2 separate regions of the Homo sapiens genome follow, and region 2 is linked to region 1. Evidence: promoter capture Hi-C in human tissues and cell types (Jung and others, 2019). All regions are on one chromosome and are shown on one strand. Each heading gives the region's core, a stretch centred on a gene start or on the middle of the fragment in contact. The rest is flanking DNA. Distances are from core to core; before and after follow the strand shown. Region 1 holds the start of MAPK7 (mitogen-activated protein kinase 7). Region 2 overlaps ULK2 (unc-51 like autophagy activating kinase 2).

Evidence for each region. Contacts are between HindIII fragments. The study calls those that stand out against the background at their distance.
Region 2: a fragment that was not itself captured here is called in contact with the fragment with the promoter of MAPK7 in region 1 in 1 of the 25 tissues and cell types used here (stomach).

The regions. Positions count from the first base shown.
Region 1 is chr17:19,374,864-19,382,046 of GRCh38, reverse strand. It overlaps MAPK7 (mitogen-activated protein kinase 7), which reads right to left and starts at 3,549. Exons shown (of 7, transcript NM_002749.4): 1 at 3,417-3,549; 2 at 2,915-3,151; 3 at 2,100-2,265; 4 at 361-1,439; 5 at 1-266. The coding sequence starts at 3,146. It also overlaps a transcript of B9D1 not described here. RefSeq lists enhancers at 624-1,586, 3,924-4,153 and silencers at 3,324-3,583, 3,654-3,713, 4,424-4,473. The HindIII fragment of the contact is 16,435 bases long and covers 1-7,183 here.
Region 2 is chr17:19,776,882-19,784,641 of GRCh38, reverse strand. ULK2 (unc-51 like autophagy activating kinase 2) reads left to right here. Exons shown (of 27, transcript NM_014683.4): 22 at 737-945; 23 at 2,575-2,753; 24 at 3,538-3,656; 25 at 4,013-4,170; 26 at 6,926-7,061. Among named protein-coding and RNA genes, the nearest start is that of ALDH3A1, 32 kb to the right of the region's middle. The HindIII fragment of the contact is 9,613 bases long and covers 1-6,558 here.

The sequences.
Region 1 (7,183 bases), core at 2,300-4,799:
TGGGGCTGCGGGCCGGGCCATTCGAGTCCAGCGTTCCAACAGGCTTCTGTCATTGTCACTGAGCACTAGTCCAGCCAAGGGGTCAGTGGAGGGGCCCCCAGAGGCCCCAGCCCCCCGTTCCTTTCGCTCCCGCTCCTGCCGCCGTTTCTCCCGCTCCTTGGCTCGTTCTTGCCGCCTCCGCCGCTTCTCCTCCCGCTCCCGCTGGCGCTCCTGGGCTGTCACCGGCTTCCGAGGCTCAGGAGCCTCCAGGGGTGCGCTGGGGCCATCTGCGGGGAAGTTGGGCAGGGGAGAAGGTAAAAGCCTGAAGCCTTGTCCAAGTCCAAGTCTCCCCTCTGCCCACCCGACCTGCCCACAAGGCACCTCTGAGCCGGCTCCTCAAAGACTTGAGCAGGGCAGCTTTAAGGGCAGCCTTAGTATTGTCTGAGATGGCACCATCTTTCTTTGGTGGGGCAGGCTCACTGACTGGTGGAGGTGGCTGCAGGGTCAGATCAATGGTGTCAGGTGCAGGGCCGGGGCATGGTGGCGGGGCTGGTGGTGGAGACTCCATGGCACAGTCCCCACTGGGAGCCCAGGGACTGGGCATTTCAACATCTGGACAGCCAGGCTCACTAGCCACAGGCTGTAGAGAAGGCTGGAAGCGGATCTGTTGGCGGATGCCCTCACGCCTTGCATGGAAGTCCTCAATTTCAGCCACAATGGCCTCCTTAATGCGCTCCCGAGTGAGGGCTTCGCGGTCAAAGGCAAAGTCAAAGGGCGGGGCACAGTCAGGCTCATCATCAGGATCATGGTACTTGGCCAGGAAAGGGTGGCGAAGGGCAGCAGCTGCTGAGATGCGAGCGCTGGGCTCAAAACGCAGCATGCGACCCAGCAGTGATAGGGCCTGGCGGTCGGCACCTGGGTACACTGTCTCCCAGGGCACAGGCTGGCGTGGTGGCAAGCTCTGGATATAGGCCCGCACCCTCTCAGCCCCCACAGCCTGAATCACGGCTGGTGATGGGGTACCCAGCACCATCATGATGAGCTGTAGCTGGTGTACATAGTTTTTGCCTGGGAAGAGCTGGCGCCGGGCCAGCATCTCACCAAAGATGCAGCCCACAGACCAGAGGTCAATAGCCTGTGTATACTCATGCAAAGAGAGCATGAGCTCGGGCGCACGGTACCAGCGCGTGGCCACATACTCAGTCATGAAGTACTGATGTTCAGCGGGCGAGGTGCACAGGCCACGAGCCATACCAAAGTCACCAATCTTGAGCTCACAGTTCTCATTCACCAATAGGTTGGAGGGCTTCAGGTCACGGTGGATGACCTGAGCCGAGTGCATGTACTTCAGGCCCCGCAGCAGTTGGTACAGGAAGTAGCGCACGTGTTCCAGTGTGAGGGGCTGTGAGGAGTGGATGATCTGGTGCAGGTCGCTTTCCATCAGGTCCAGGACCACGTAGCTGGAAGGGGAAGGAAGGAGAGAAGCATGGGTTGGCCTGATCACACTCCAGGGACAAGCCCCATCCTCACCACACCCTTCCGATTCCAGACAGGTAACAGCCTTACCCTGGGACCCCATAGGGGCTGACGGCATGGTATGGAAGAAGAGCATCACGTTTTAGATTCTCTACGACTTTTCCATGAACTTGGTTAAATCACTTTTGTCTCCAGACCTAGTTTCCCCATCAGATAAAAGATGGGGTTGGACTACACCAGGGCTGGCCAATAGGTTTCCTTTTGGGGCTATCTCCATTGTTTGGTAGTGGCAGCTTGAAGAACTATGATGAAAATTGACCAGGCTTGTCCACTGTCTGTAGGAAAGTGTTCTGTGATTGATTAGTGAAGTCTGCTATGGGAATAGGAGGGTGTGGTCATAGTAGGAATGTCCTACATTTGACATCCTATATACTAAGATTCTATAAAACTGTAAAATCATCTGTACACTTCTTGAGGAATAACAGTTGTCCCTGGCAAAACTCTAAAGAACTGGTCCTAGAACTGCGGGAATTTTCCCAGCCTGCTTCAGATTAGATTCAGCTGCCTTTCCAGAACTTCGGCAACATGGTTGCAGCCTTCAGAAAAGTCCCAAGTCTGGCTCCCTCTCCCATCCCGCTTCTTACACAGATTTGAATTCGCCATAGGGCACGGTGGGCCTCAGGATGTCCTTGATGGCGATGATGTTGTCGTGTTTAAAGTGCTTGAGGATCTTCAGCTCCCTGAGGGTCCGCTTGGCATTGGTCACCACATCGAAAGCATTAGGGATCTTCTTGATGGCCACCTGCTGGCCTGAGGAGCAGGGAAAAGGGACATACCAGAGGATACCTTGGAGAAACTGCAGAGTCGACTCAGCCCCTATCAACACCTCCCTTCTAGGATGCAAATGACAACAGCTACCAAGTATTGGGTACCTACTATGTGCCAAGCCCTGTGCTAAGCATGTTACCTACATTATTAAATGTTACCTTCACAACTCCCCTGCGGGGCAGGTCCCAATAGGTCAACGTTAAAGAGAAGGAAATATGGCTTAGTAACTTGTTGGAGGTTGCACGGATGCCCAGTGGTGTAGCTCAGCCTCTTATGCCTACACCCTCTCCATCTCAGACCTCACCCATCCCACCACCAGTTCCTTATGCCAGTGTCTGGCTCCAGAACACATTTCTCTCTTAGACACGAAGGACTGGCTCTCCATTCTGGTCTAACTGGGACTATCATTTTCCTAAGGAGGAAGTAGGCAGGCAGGATGGCAAAACCACCAGGCCGGAGTTTCAGAGAACCGAGCCTCCCCGGAGCCTGGCAGGCAGAAGGCCCTGGTCAGTGTGTGTTGACTGGAGCCAGAACTCGCACCCCGCTTTCCTTCCCGGCTGTCTGGGACAGGCCGGTTTCCCACTCCCTGCGACGCTGCCACATCTGGGAGGCGACGGCTCAGGAAGCTCACCGGTGAGGCGGCGGCGGGCGGAGGACACCACTCCATAGGCCCCGTTGCCTATGGTCTCGATGATCTCGTACTCGTCGCCCACGTCAAAGGTCACATCGAAGGAGCGGGCTTTAAGCAGGGCCAGGTTCTTGGCCGCTACAGAGGCAGCGGTGTGGGCGGGTTCGGCCTTCACGGGCCCGGGGGGCTCCGCAGAGCCGTCCTCGCCGTCTTCCTCCTTCAGAGGCTCGGCCATGGTGTCTGTGTGGAGACTCGGGTGAGGAGAGGACCACCTACCGTGGGCCTCAGTGTCCCCTCTGCGGGCTGGGGAGCAGGACCAGGGAACTTCCCAGTTTCCTAAACCGACAAGGGCAGAAGCGCGCGGCTGGTTCGTGGCAGACTAGCTACCCCAGGGGTCCGGGCCCAGAGCCGGGGGCCCGCCAGGGTCGGGGGAGGGGTAGGCGAGGCGCGGGCCAGGAAGAAAGGGAGGGGCGGGGCACCTGGGTTTCCTCAGGGCCGCACTCACCCCCGCGCCTCCTCAAGGCTTTCAGAGGTCCCGAGGCTCGCCGGCCTCCCGTCCCCAGCGCGGGGGTCTCCGAGGGTGGCTCACTTACTTGTTCAAAGGCCGCAGCCACCACCTCAGCGTCTTGAGCTGCCCTGTCCGTCCCCCTCCGCCCCGCCTCCCAAGGCCACGCTCCCTCCAGCTCCTGGCCAATCGCTGAGCTACTGCTGCGGAGGGTCCTGCCCCTTCTACCTACTGCGTCCAATCCTAGCCCACCGGCCGAGAAAGCCACGCCTGGCGCGCGCCGCTGTCCAGCTCGCCGGCGGGAGCCGCCCAAAGGGTGCCCGGCACTTCGCAGGGGTGTGCTCCCCGCCCTGCACCGCCTTCAAACGCATGCGCACTGGCAGTCGGGCGCCAAGTGAATGGAAGGCAACGCCCCTGCACGTAGCGCGCGCGTCCCCATGAAGCTCTCAACCTCATCCGGCCAATCACAGCTAGTCCCGTGAGCTCGGGGAACTGCCCGGCCTGAGATGCCCAGGTCTGGGACTGTTACCTTGGCTACTGGCTCCCGAAGTCCCCTTCCGCCCAGGGAATTGTGTCCGCCATTTGCTTGGTCCCAGGAGCTCTGGGAATGTGTCATCCCCGGTAGAGGGTGCCCGTCACGGCCAACCACAGAGATCCCGGTCCTCCGGGATTCTAGAGCGTCCGGCCGAACCCTCCACTGACTTCCGGTGGCTGAGCCTCTCCGCAGCTTCCGGCCAAGTTGGACTGCAGCTCGCGGTTTCCTGGCTTCTAGGTATCTTCCCTCCGCTCGTTTGTCTGTCCCGCGATTCCCGTGCTTTGGGCTGCAGCGGAGTTAACCGAGGCGGCCGCCCAACCTCTGCTCCTCTGCGGAGCCCGCGGGTGGGCGGAGCCCTCGCTGGAACCGAGCTGTCCCGACCCACCCCAAAATCCGATAGTTTATTCGTTCATTCATGTAGCAAATGTTTATGGAGCACCGCCCCTCTAAGGCTCAGTGCCGGGAGGCGAAGGTGGACATGGTGGATACTGTGAGCTGGAAGGAAAGGTTTTCTAAAGGGAGCTCGAGGTAGGGCCGAAAAGAAGTGAAGAATTTTGGTTTCACTCCTAGGCGGCTTCTAGAAAAAAGCAATATGTATGCATATTCGTACCTACCTCCCCTTTGGTGTACAAAAATGTAGCATATTATGCTCTTTTCCTGAAGATCATTCCATATCAATAACTGGAGGGGTCCCTCACTTTTAAACAACTTTTAATAACATACCATAAAACTCATCCTTTTATAGTGTACAATTCAGTGTTTTTTGGTATATTCACAGTTGAGCAGCCATCATCACTACCTAATTTTAGGTAGAGTGGTTTATGGAACATTTTCATCGCCCCTAAAAGAAACCTATGTGAACCAAGTATCTGAGACAAGTCTCAAGTCAATTTAGAAAGTTTATTTTGCCAATGTTAAGGACATGGTGGTGACAGCCTCAGGAGGTCCTACAACATGTGCCCAAGATGGTCGGGGCATAGTCAGCCTTTATACATTTCAGGAAGACATAATACATAAGTCAATACATGCAAGATTGACATTGATTTGATGTGCTTATTGGCCATTTGTCTCCTTTGGGGAAATGTCTGTTCAATGTCTATTCTGGAAGGGCGGGACAACTCAAAGGGGAGGGGCTTCCAAGTCACAGGTAGATTTAAACATATCCTGATTGGCAGTTGGTTACAAGAGTTATTATCTATAGAAAGGAATATCTGGGTTATGATAAGGGGTTGTGGAGACCTAGGGTTTTTTGGTTGTTTATTTTATTTTATTTTATTTTATTTTATTTTATTTTATTTTATTTTATTTGAAGAGTGAGTCTCACTCTGTTGCCCAGGCTGGAGTGCAGTGGTGCGATCTCGGCTCACTGCAACCTCCCCCTCCTGGTCTCCTGCCTCAGCCTCCCGAATAGCTGGGATCACAGGCATGAGCCATCAAGCCCGGCTTTTTTTTTTTTTTTTTTTTTTTTTTTGTATTTTAGTAGAGATGGGGTTTCACCCTGTTGGCCTGGCTGGTCTCGAACTCCTGACCTCAAGTCATCCACGCCCCCCTGCTCCCGGCCTCCCAAAGTGCTGGGATTACAGGCGTGAGCCACTGCACCTGGCCAGGAGACCTAGGTTTTATTATGCAGTTGAAGCCTCCCAGTAGCAGGCTATAGAGAGAATAGACAAATATTTCTTATCAGACTTAAGGTCAGTGTTGATGTTAATGTTGGAGGGGTATAATAAGGCATGTCCAACTCTCACCTCCCATCGTGGCCTGAACCAGTCTTTCAGGTTAAATTTTAGGGTGTGCTGGCCAAGGAGGGAGTCCATTCAGATGGTTGCAAAGGGCCTTCTAATTTTATTTTTGGTTTATACCCATTAACGGTCACTCCTCATTCCTCTTTCACCAGAGCCCTTGCAACCACTGAACTACTTTCTGTCTCTATGGACTTGCGTATTGTGGATGCTCTATACTAATGGAATCACACACTGTGTAGTCTTTTGTGTTTGGCTTATTTCACTTAGCATAAAGTTCATGTTGTCATATTAGCACTAATTTTTATGGCCAAATATATTGCATTGTTTAGATATACCATATTTTGTTTATCCATCAGTTTATGAACATTTGGGTTGTTTCAACTTTTTGGCTATTATGATAATGCTTCTGAGAACATTTGTTTACAAGTTTTTTTGTGGACATGTTTTCCTTTCTCTTGGGAGTGGGATTGCTGGGTCACATGGTAAACTATTAACTTCTTGAGAAAGTGCCAAGCTGTTTTCTCCAGCAGTTGCACCATTTTACAAATTCACCAGCAATATTTAAGAGTTCCGATTTCTCCACATCCTCACCAACACCTCTTTTCTTTTTCTGATACTGAGTCTCACTCTATCGCCCAGGCTGGAGTGCACTGGCACGATCTCGGCTCACTGCAACATCTGCACCCCAGGTTCAAGCAATTCTTCTCCCTCAGCTTCCCGAGTAGTTGGGATTACAGGTCCCCACCACCATGTCCAGCTAATTTTTATATTTTTATTAGAGATGGTCAGGCTGGTTTCGAACTCCTGACCTCAAGTGATCCACCTGCCTCAGCCTCCCAAAGTGCTGGGATTACAGGCATGAGCCACAGTACCCAGCCTTATTATTATTATTATTTTTTAATTATAGCCATCCTAGTGGGTGTGAAGTGATACGTCATTGTAGTTTTGATTTGCATTTCCCTAATGACTAAGGATGTTTTCACGGTTTATTGGCCATTTGTCTCCTTTGGGGAAATGTCTGTTCAATATCTATTCAAATCCTTTGACCTTTTTTTTTTTTCTTTTTGAGACAGGGTTTCACTCCAGCCCAGGCTAGAGTGCGGTGGTAGGATCTCAGCTCACTGCAGCCTCCGCCTCCCAAGCTCAAGTGATTCTCCTGCCTCAGCCTCTCAAGTAGCTAGGACTACAGGCACACATCATTGCACTCAGCTAATTTTTGTATTTTTAGCAGAGACAGGGTCTCACTGTGTTGGCCAGGCTAGTCTTGAACTCCTGAGCTCAAGTGATCGGCCTACGTCAGCCTCCCAAAGTGCTGGGATTACAGGCATGAGCCACCGCATCAGCCCTCTGTCCATTTTTAATTGGATTATTTGCCTTTTTATTGTTGAGCTGTCAGAGTTCTTTATATATTCTAAACAAAAGTCCCTTATCAGATGATTTACAGATACAGATATTACCTTATTAGATGATTTACAGATATTTACTTCCCA
Region 2 (7,760 bases), core at 503-3,002, 400 kb before region 1:
TGAGGTGAAAGAATTACCTGAGCCCAGAAAATCAAGGCTGCAGTGAGCTGTGATCACGCCACTGCAATTCAGCCTGCGCAACAGCAAGACCCTGACTCAAAAAAAAAAAAAAAAAAAAAAAAAAAAAAGTATCATGTCCAGTGTTATTGAGGTTTAGTAGGATCTATGTGCTTACTCAGGGCTGCGTTAGAGAGTACTATAACAGTTCTTAGGAAGAGCTGTAAAAATATTTATTGATCTATGCTAATTCCATTCCTTCTTATACCACTTCAGAGTATTTATCACAAAGAAATTATTCAAAAGAAGGAACAACTGTCTGCATTTCATTACAGTGCTATTTGTAATATGAATAAAATCAGAAATAGTATAAATGACTCCAGATAAACATTATATAATATATATAAATTTAATGAATCAGTGCATCCATTGAGTTTTATAATTATGAGGCCCTGTGGAGCAGCAAGGAGAAATGAATATGATCTAAATTTGTTTAAAACAGAGTATAAAAAAACTAGCTCTGATGATGTCTAATATAAAATATATAGACAAGGAATAACAATGAACATGGATAAGTAAAAACTATTAATATCCTCAAATAGTACATAGGGGGTCAGTGAGTTTCTTTTAACGAAACTTTCCTTTGTCACCTCAGCAGGTTTGTTTAGTAAATAAGAGTAGGAGTGGGTGTGAAAGCCCTAACTCTGGACACTGCCATGTATCCTCTGTTTCCTTGTAGTGGGGCCCAGCAACTCCGGGGGCTCTCTTTGTGCCATGAGTGGCCGCGTGTGCGTGGGGTCCCCGCCTGGCCCAGGCTTCGGCTCTTCCCCTCCAGGAGCAGAGGCAGCTCCCAGCCTGAGATACGTGCCTTACGGTGCTTCACCCCCCAGCCTAGAGGGGCTCATCACCTTTGAAGCCCCTGAACTGCCGGAGGAGACGCTGATGGAGGTAGAAAAGAGACTATAGTGGTGTGAATGTAATGTTGATTTGATATGAGAACATTCTAGTGATGACAAGAACAAAATACATTAAATAGTTAGGAAGTTATGTTCTCTTTAACGTGCCTTTTCTGTTTGAAAAGTATTGCTGATGTCTTTTTAAATTAACATTGACAGTGACACTCATCCATAATAAGCTTTGGTTTATAGGAAGAAACACATAGATTCTGTGTTTTTCTTTCTTTCTTTTTTTTTGAGACAGAGTCTTGCTCTGTCACCCAGGCTGGAGTGCAGTGGTGCAATCTCGGCTCACTCCCACCTCTGCCTCCTGGGTTCAAGCAATTCTCCTGCCTCAGCCCCCACGAGTAGCTGGGATTACAGGCACACGCCACCATGCCCGGCTAATTTTTGTATTTTTAGTAGAGACGGGGTTTCACCATGTTGGCCAGGCGGGTCTCGAACTCCTGACCTTGTGATCTGCCCACCTCTGCCTCCCAAAGTGCTAGGATTACAGGCGTGAGCATTCTAGTACATTCTATTGCATGTTCCAGTGTATTGAAACATACAGTGCAATATGCTGTCACAGAGCAGAGAGACTTTTAGAAGTCAATTGGCTTATTCTCCTGTCACTAGGAAAATGATTCTCATCTTTATTTAACCATAAAAGAGTGGGAAACTTTTAGGCTTGAGATTTCAGAATGCATTTATAACTAAAAACAAATCTCAAAACAACAATCTAGAATACCCATTTATTTATTTATTTATTTGTTTGTTTGTTTGTTTGTTTATTTGAGACAGAGTCTTGCTCTGTCACCCAGGTTGGAATGCAGTGGTGCGATCTCAGCTCACTCTAACTTCCACCTCCTGGGTTCAAGCCACTCTCCTGCCTCAGCTTCCTGAGGAGCTGGGACTACAGGCACATGCCACCACGCCCAGCTAATTTTTGTATTTTTAGTAGAGACGGGATTTCGCCATGTTGGCCAGGCTGGTCTCAAACTCCTGACCTCAGGTGATCCACCCGCCTTGGCCTCCCAAAGTGCTTGGATTACAGGCATGAGCCACCATGCCCGGCCTAGAATGCCCATTTTTAAATGACAGCCCTCTGAATGCTGTTATGTCTACCCACACTCCCCTCTTTAACTAACTGAAAAGATCACAGAAAGTTAGAGCTTTGGTATTAGTAATCACTGTTAACTGAAAAACGACCAGAAATTAAATAAAGCAACTCTGAAATTATAAGAAGTCAGCAGAATTCAATACAGTATCAAGAAGTGTGATTTAGCACCTATAGTATCCTTGTAATCTTTGTGTCTACCTTGTCACGTTTTTGTCTCATGTATATTGATTTAATCGTTCAGCTTTCTTTTCTTTTTCTGGTAAAAGCACAGCGACCCATCCTGAGTTTACTTATGTGGGTACTCTGATACACATACACAAACACATGCATATACCTATATTTGGTTTCATTTGTGTTCATTTTCTTACCAGCTTTCTGAAATTTAAAAATTTCAATCTCCTTTTGTCATTCTGATACTCATAAGTATAGAAAACATGATCAGCGGCCATGGTTTATGTACAGAAATGAGTATGTACGTATTTTTAATCTGAAATTTTCTAAGACAAATTGACTTTGCTGCAGCGGGAACACACAGACACCTTACGCCATCTGAATGTGATGCTGATGTTCACTGAGTGTGTGCTGGACCTGACAGCCATGAGGGGAGGAAACCCTGAGCTGTGCACATCTGCTGTGTCCTTGTACCAGATCCAGGAGAGTGTGGTGGTGGACCAGATCAGTCAGCTGAGCAAAGACTGGGGGTGGGTGCCCCCTTGTCATTCATTTCCAGACTTTTCATGCTTTGTCTAAACTTGTGTCTAAGTTGTAGGTATTGTCATCCACTGAAGATCATATCTCATTATTAAAAGCTAGGAGTCTCAATTATTTCTTTGTACTACATTTCACTATATGAGCCAAGACCTGGAGATTATGCAACCTCAGTGTTGCCTTTCCTTGTAAATTATACTGTTGAAGTTCTTTTGTGTAAATAGATTGTATTGATTTTTATCTGAGTGTATCCGTTATTTTCACAGTACACACATCTTTAACTATGCCTTGTCCCTTGAGAGTTTACTTGTGCATTAAGAAATTAAGGAGGGCTGGTCGCAGTAGCTTATGCCTATATGTAATTCCAGCACTTTGGGAGGATGGGGCAGAAGGATTGCTTGAGCCCATGGGTTCGAGACCAGCCTGGGCAATATGATGAATCCCTGTCTCTACAAAAAATACAAAAATTAGCCGGGCATGGTGGTGCGTCCCTGTGGTCCCAACTATTAATATTCGGGAGGCTGAGGTGGGAGGATCCCTTGAGCCCAGGAAGTAGAGGCTGCAGTAAGCCAAGATCAAGCCACTATACTTCGGCCTGGGGGACAGAGCAAGACTCTGTCAAAAAAAAAAAAAAAAAAAGAAAAGAAAGAAGAAAAGAAATCAAAGAGGATGCTATTCCTTTATAGAAAGGCAATTTTAATGGTGACCTGTTGTGTAGAGTGCCACATCTTACATTAGTTCACAAGATAACCCTCTGCTACTGTCTTTTGGGTGCAGGCGGGTGGAGCAGCTGGTGTTGTACATGAAAGCAGCACAGCTGCTTGCGGCTTCTCTGCATCTTGCCAAAGCCCAGATCAAGTCCGGGAAACTGAGCCCATCCACAGCTGTGAAACAAGGTATGGGAGAAGGCAGCGTGTAACTCCAGGGGTCAGTCCTTAAGTTGCTCTTTCCCATCACACTGTGAGAGAGTGTCTGATGAGTACTCACTGTTGTTTTTATTTTTCAGTATTCTTAAAGGGAAAAGATGCTGGGTTGTTAGCTTTTTGCAGTTCAATTGATAGAAGTCTGAAGTGCATTATTCTCAATCTTTTCATATTGAAAGAGATAACATGAAAAAATCCTATTTCTGGTCCTTTTTTTGAATGATCACATAGTGACACCTTCCCTATATATCAGCAGGAAAGATACATATAACTGTGTCTTTATTTCTGGAGGAAAATTAAAATTAGTTCCCATCTCAATTTTTTTTCAGTTGTCAAGAATCTGAACGAACGATATAAATTCTGCATCACCATGTGCAAGAAACTTACAGAAAAGCTGAATCGATTCTTCTCTGACAAACAGAGGTTTATTGATGAAATCAACAGTGTGACTGCAGAGAAACTCATCTATAATTGTGCTGTAGAAATGGTAACCCTTTCTAAGGTTTAATATTGTATAGTACTACTTATCTTTAAGTGTCTTTTTAATTGAATATCTATATGACAGCTATCCTTTTAAAAGATAATGTCTCAAGTCCCAAGTATTGTGGATTGCCTTCTACTAAAGAAGTAATTGGATTTAAGCAACTGTTAATGTCATTTACTGGATGTATTTTAAGTAATTACAAATCCGTTTACCACATTTGCTATAAGTTTATTACAGCTCTTATTAAACATTGCTGGCATTAGGCATGATCTAATCTTTTTTTTTTCTTTTTTTTTTTTTCTTGAGACGGAGTTACTCTGTCGCCCAGGCTGGAGTACAGTGGCACGATCTCAGCTCACTGCAACCTCTGCTTCCCAGATTCAAGTGATTCTCCTGCCTCAGCTTCCTGAGTAGCTGGGATTACAGGCACTTGCCACCATGCCCAGCTAATTTTTGTATTTTTAGTAGAGATGGGGTTTTGCCATGTTGGCCAGGGTGGTTTCCAACTCCTGGCCTCAGGTGTTCCACCCTCCTTAGCCTCCCAAAGTGCTGGGATTACAGATGTGAGCCACCGTGCCCAGCCGATCTAATCTTTTTATAGTGTGCATCTAAAAGCATTAGCAGGATCTGTTTCTGCATTTTCTGCTGTTTAAGAAAGTTAGGCTTGATAAAACTCTTAGGAAAAACACTGCTTTATTAATCAATCCACACAAATTTATGTGCTCAGGTCCCACTTACTGATATTGTAGGATAGACACAAAGTAAAACCTTCTTTTCCTATTTTCTGGTTTTAATATTGGAAATAATTTGTTTTCTGCCTCTCGGGGAAAAATTACTCTAAAGTATAAATAAAAATAGAGGCTGTTGAAAAAGTAGTTAAGTGGGGGAAAATTCATTAGTTAGCCAATCATATGTTTTTCTTTTTTTTTTTTTTTTTTTTTTTGAGATGGAGTTTTGTTCTGTCGTCCAGGCTGACGTGCAGCAGCATGATCTTGGCTCACTGCAACCTCTGCTTCCCAGGTTCAAGCGATTCTGCTGCGTTAGCCTCCCATGTAGCTGGGATTACAGGCACCTGCCACCACACCCAGCTAATTTTTGTGTTTTTAGTAGAGACAGGATTTTACCATGTTGGCCAGGCTTGGTCTTGAACTCTTGACCTCAGGTGATCCACCCACCTCGGCCTCCCAAAGTGCTGGGATTATAGGTGTGAGCCACTGTGCCCGGCATGCCAATTGTATTTCTAACACATTAACATAATAGATCCCCCTTTCCATTTTCTATTTGTCTACTGTGAACTGTGCTGTTATATTACATCCGTGGCCTTATTTTGAAATTTATTAAAATAACCATAGGAAAATAACTTTGGAATATAAATTCTTGACAAAAATAGTATATATCATATTGCTGTAAACTATTGAGATGAATAATATGCACTGCATCACTGTATGCTGAGTTGAGACCTCATATGATAAATTATTTTTAGAATTTTGCACCAGAAAAATGTCCTCCATATGGAATTATAATGCTGTTTTTCCTTCTCAGAATAAAGAGCCCTATAACTTATAAATTCCTCCGTTCGTCCTGGCTGCTTAGTGAGCTTAGAGGCATTAACACTTAGTTATTTTTTTCTTTTTCCTTGTCCTGGCTCTGATCTTCTGTATCCATTTTATTTGCTTTATTGTTAGCTGCTTGAAATTATTTTTTTTGAAGGAGAGAGAATAGCTAGGTGCAGTGGCATGCACCTGTAGTCCCAGCTACTCAGGAGGCTGAGACAAGAGGATTGCTTGAGCTCAGGAGTTCAAGATTAGTCTAGGCAACAGAGCGAGACCCCATCTATATAAGAATGCATAAATACATTTTAAAAATTAAAAACAAAAACAAGATATAGCATATTAACAAGTAAATTCGGATACTGGATTTCTGAGAGTTCTGGTACTTAATGATCAAAGAGAAAATCAGAATGTCGATGGGGAAACCCCTGTGAATAATGCTACCATCCCCTCTTTCTGGAGAGCCCCTTCCCACATTTTTCCTCACCTGATTCACTTCTGCTGTTGTTGCTTTATGATTCAGCACAAACAGCACCTCCTGGAAGCTTCCCCTAATCATCTTCTCCTTCCGTAATATAGGTTAGAGGCATCCCCTATGTATTCCGTATCATCCAGTGCTTCCTCCTGTAACACCGTGTGTGCCTTGGCATTAGAATTGCATTTTTTGCAGGACTGTATCTCCCTCCAGACTGCAAGCTCTCCTTCATTGTAGGCGCAGTGCCTGGCACTTTGTTAGGTGCTCAATAAGTATCTTTGAATGAATGAATGACTACACCCAAAAATTATTTGGCTAGAAAAAGAAGCCAGTAAAGCCAGCAAGTGACTATTAGCATCATTTAATTATATTATTGAAACAAAATCTACTTTAATGAAATTTCAGGTTACCCTTATATGGAAGTGTGTGTTTAAAATCAATTTATAATGAAGTCATAAAAGAGCCAGTTTAGAAGGGTTCTAGTATGAAATTTATGAAGCATACCTCTGAATACCAGAAGGCTGTGTTTGAAAGCAGACCGACTTTTTATGAAGTTGCTCTTATATATTGCTCATCCCAAAGAATCTTTGAGTTTTATGTAGTTTTGCAGACTGTATCACTTTACCAAAATGTGTTAATTTTAGGTGGATTCCATTTAAAGCTTCATTGCCCAAATGGATTTGTATTTTCTTGGAAAAATTGAGAGAATTGTGTTTTTGTTGACTGGTTCCAGGTTCAGTCTGCAGCCCTGGATGAGATGTTTCAGCAGACCGAAGATATTGTTTATCGCTATCATAAGGCAGCCCTTCTTTTGGAAGGCCTAAGTAGGATTCTACAGGACCCTGCAGATATTGAAAATGTGCATAAATGTAAGTTGACTTACAAAGTAGTGTATTTTTTTACTTCATTTTAGTTGTCTATCACAAGCATAGTACAAAGAGCTTGGAGTTTGGAATTCTGCCTTGGTTTGAATCGTGGCTTTCCAGCCTTGTGCAAATCACAGCCTTTGTGTGGCCTCAGCTTCTTTTTCATAAAATAGGAGTAGGGCCAGGCACAGTGTCTCACGCCTGTAATCCCAGCACTTTGGGAGGCCAAGGTGGGCGGATCACCTGAGCTCAGGAGTGCAAGACCAGCCCGGCCAACATAGCGAAACCCCGTCTTTATTAAAAATACAAAAATTAGCTGTGCATCATGGCGCATACCTGTAAGCTCCACTGCTCGGGAGGCTGAGACAGGAGAATCGCTTGAACCCAGGAGGTGGAGGTTGCAGTGAGCTGAGATTGTGCCACTGCACTCCAGCCTGGGCGACAAAGCAAGACTCCATTCTACGTAGTTAGGTAGGTAGGTAGATAGGTAGGTAGGTAGGTAGATACATACATAGATACATAGATAGATATATAGATAAATAGATGCATAACTAGATAGATACATAGATACAGCAGTGCCTGCCTTGCAGGGTTGTTGTGAGGATTACAGGTGATGCATGAAAAGCACTGGTGACTGCGTAATTCATCTTTAGATTTCTACACGGTGTTACTTTGTTGGCAAGTGTTCGTATATGTAGGAGG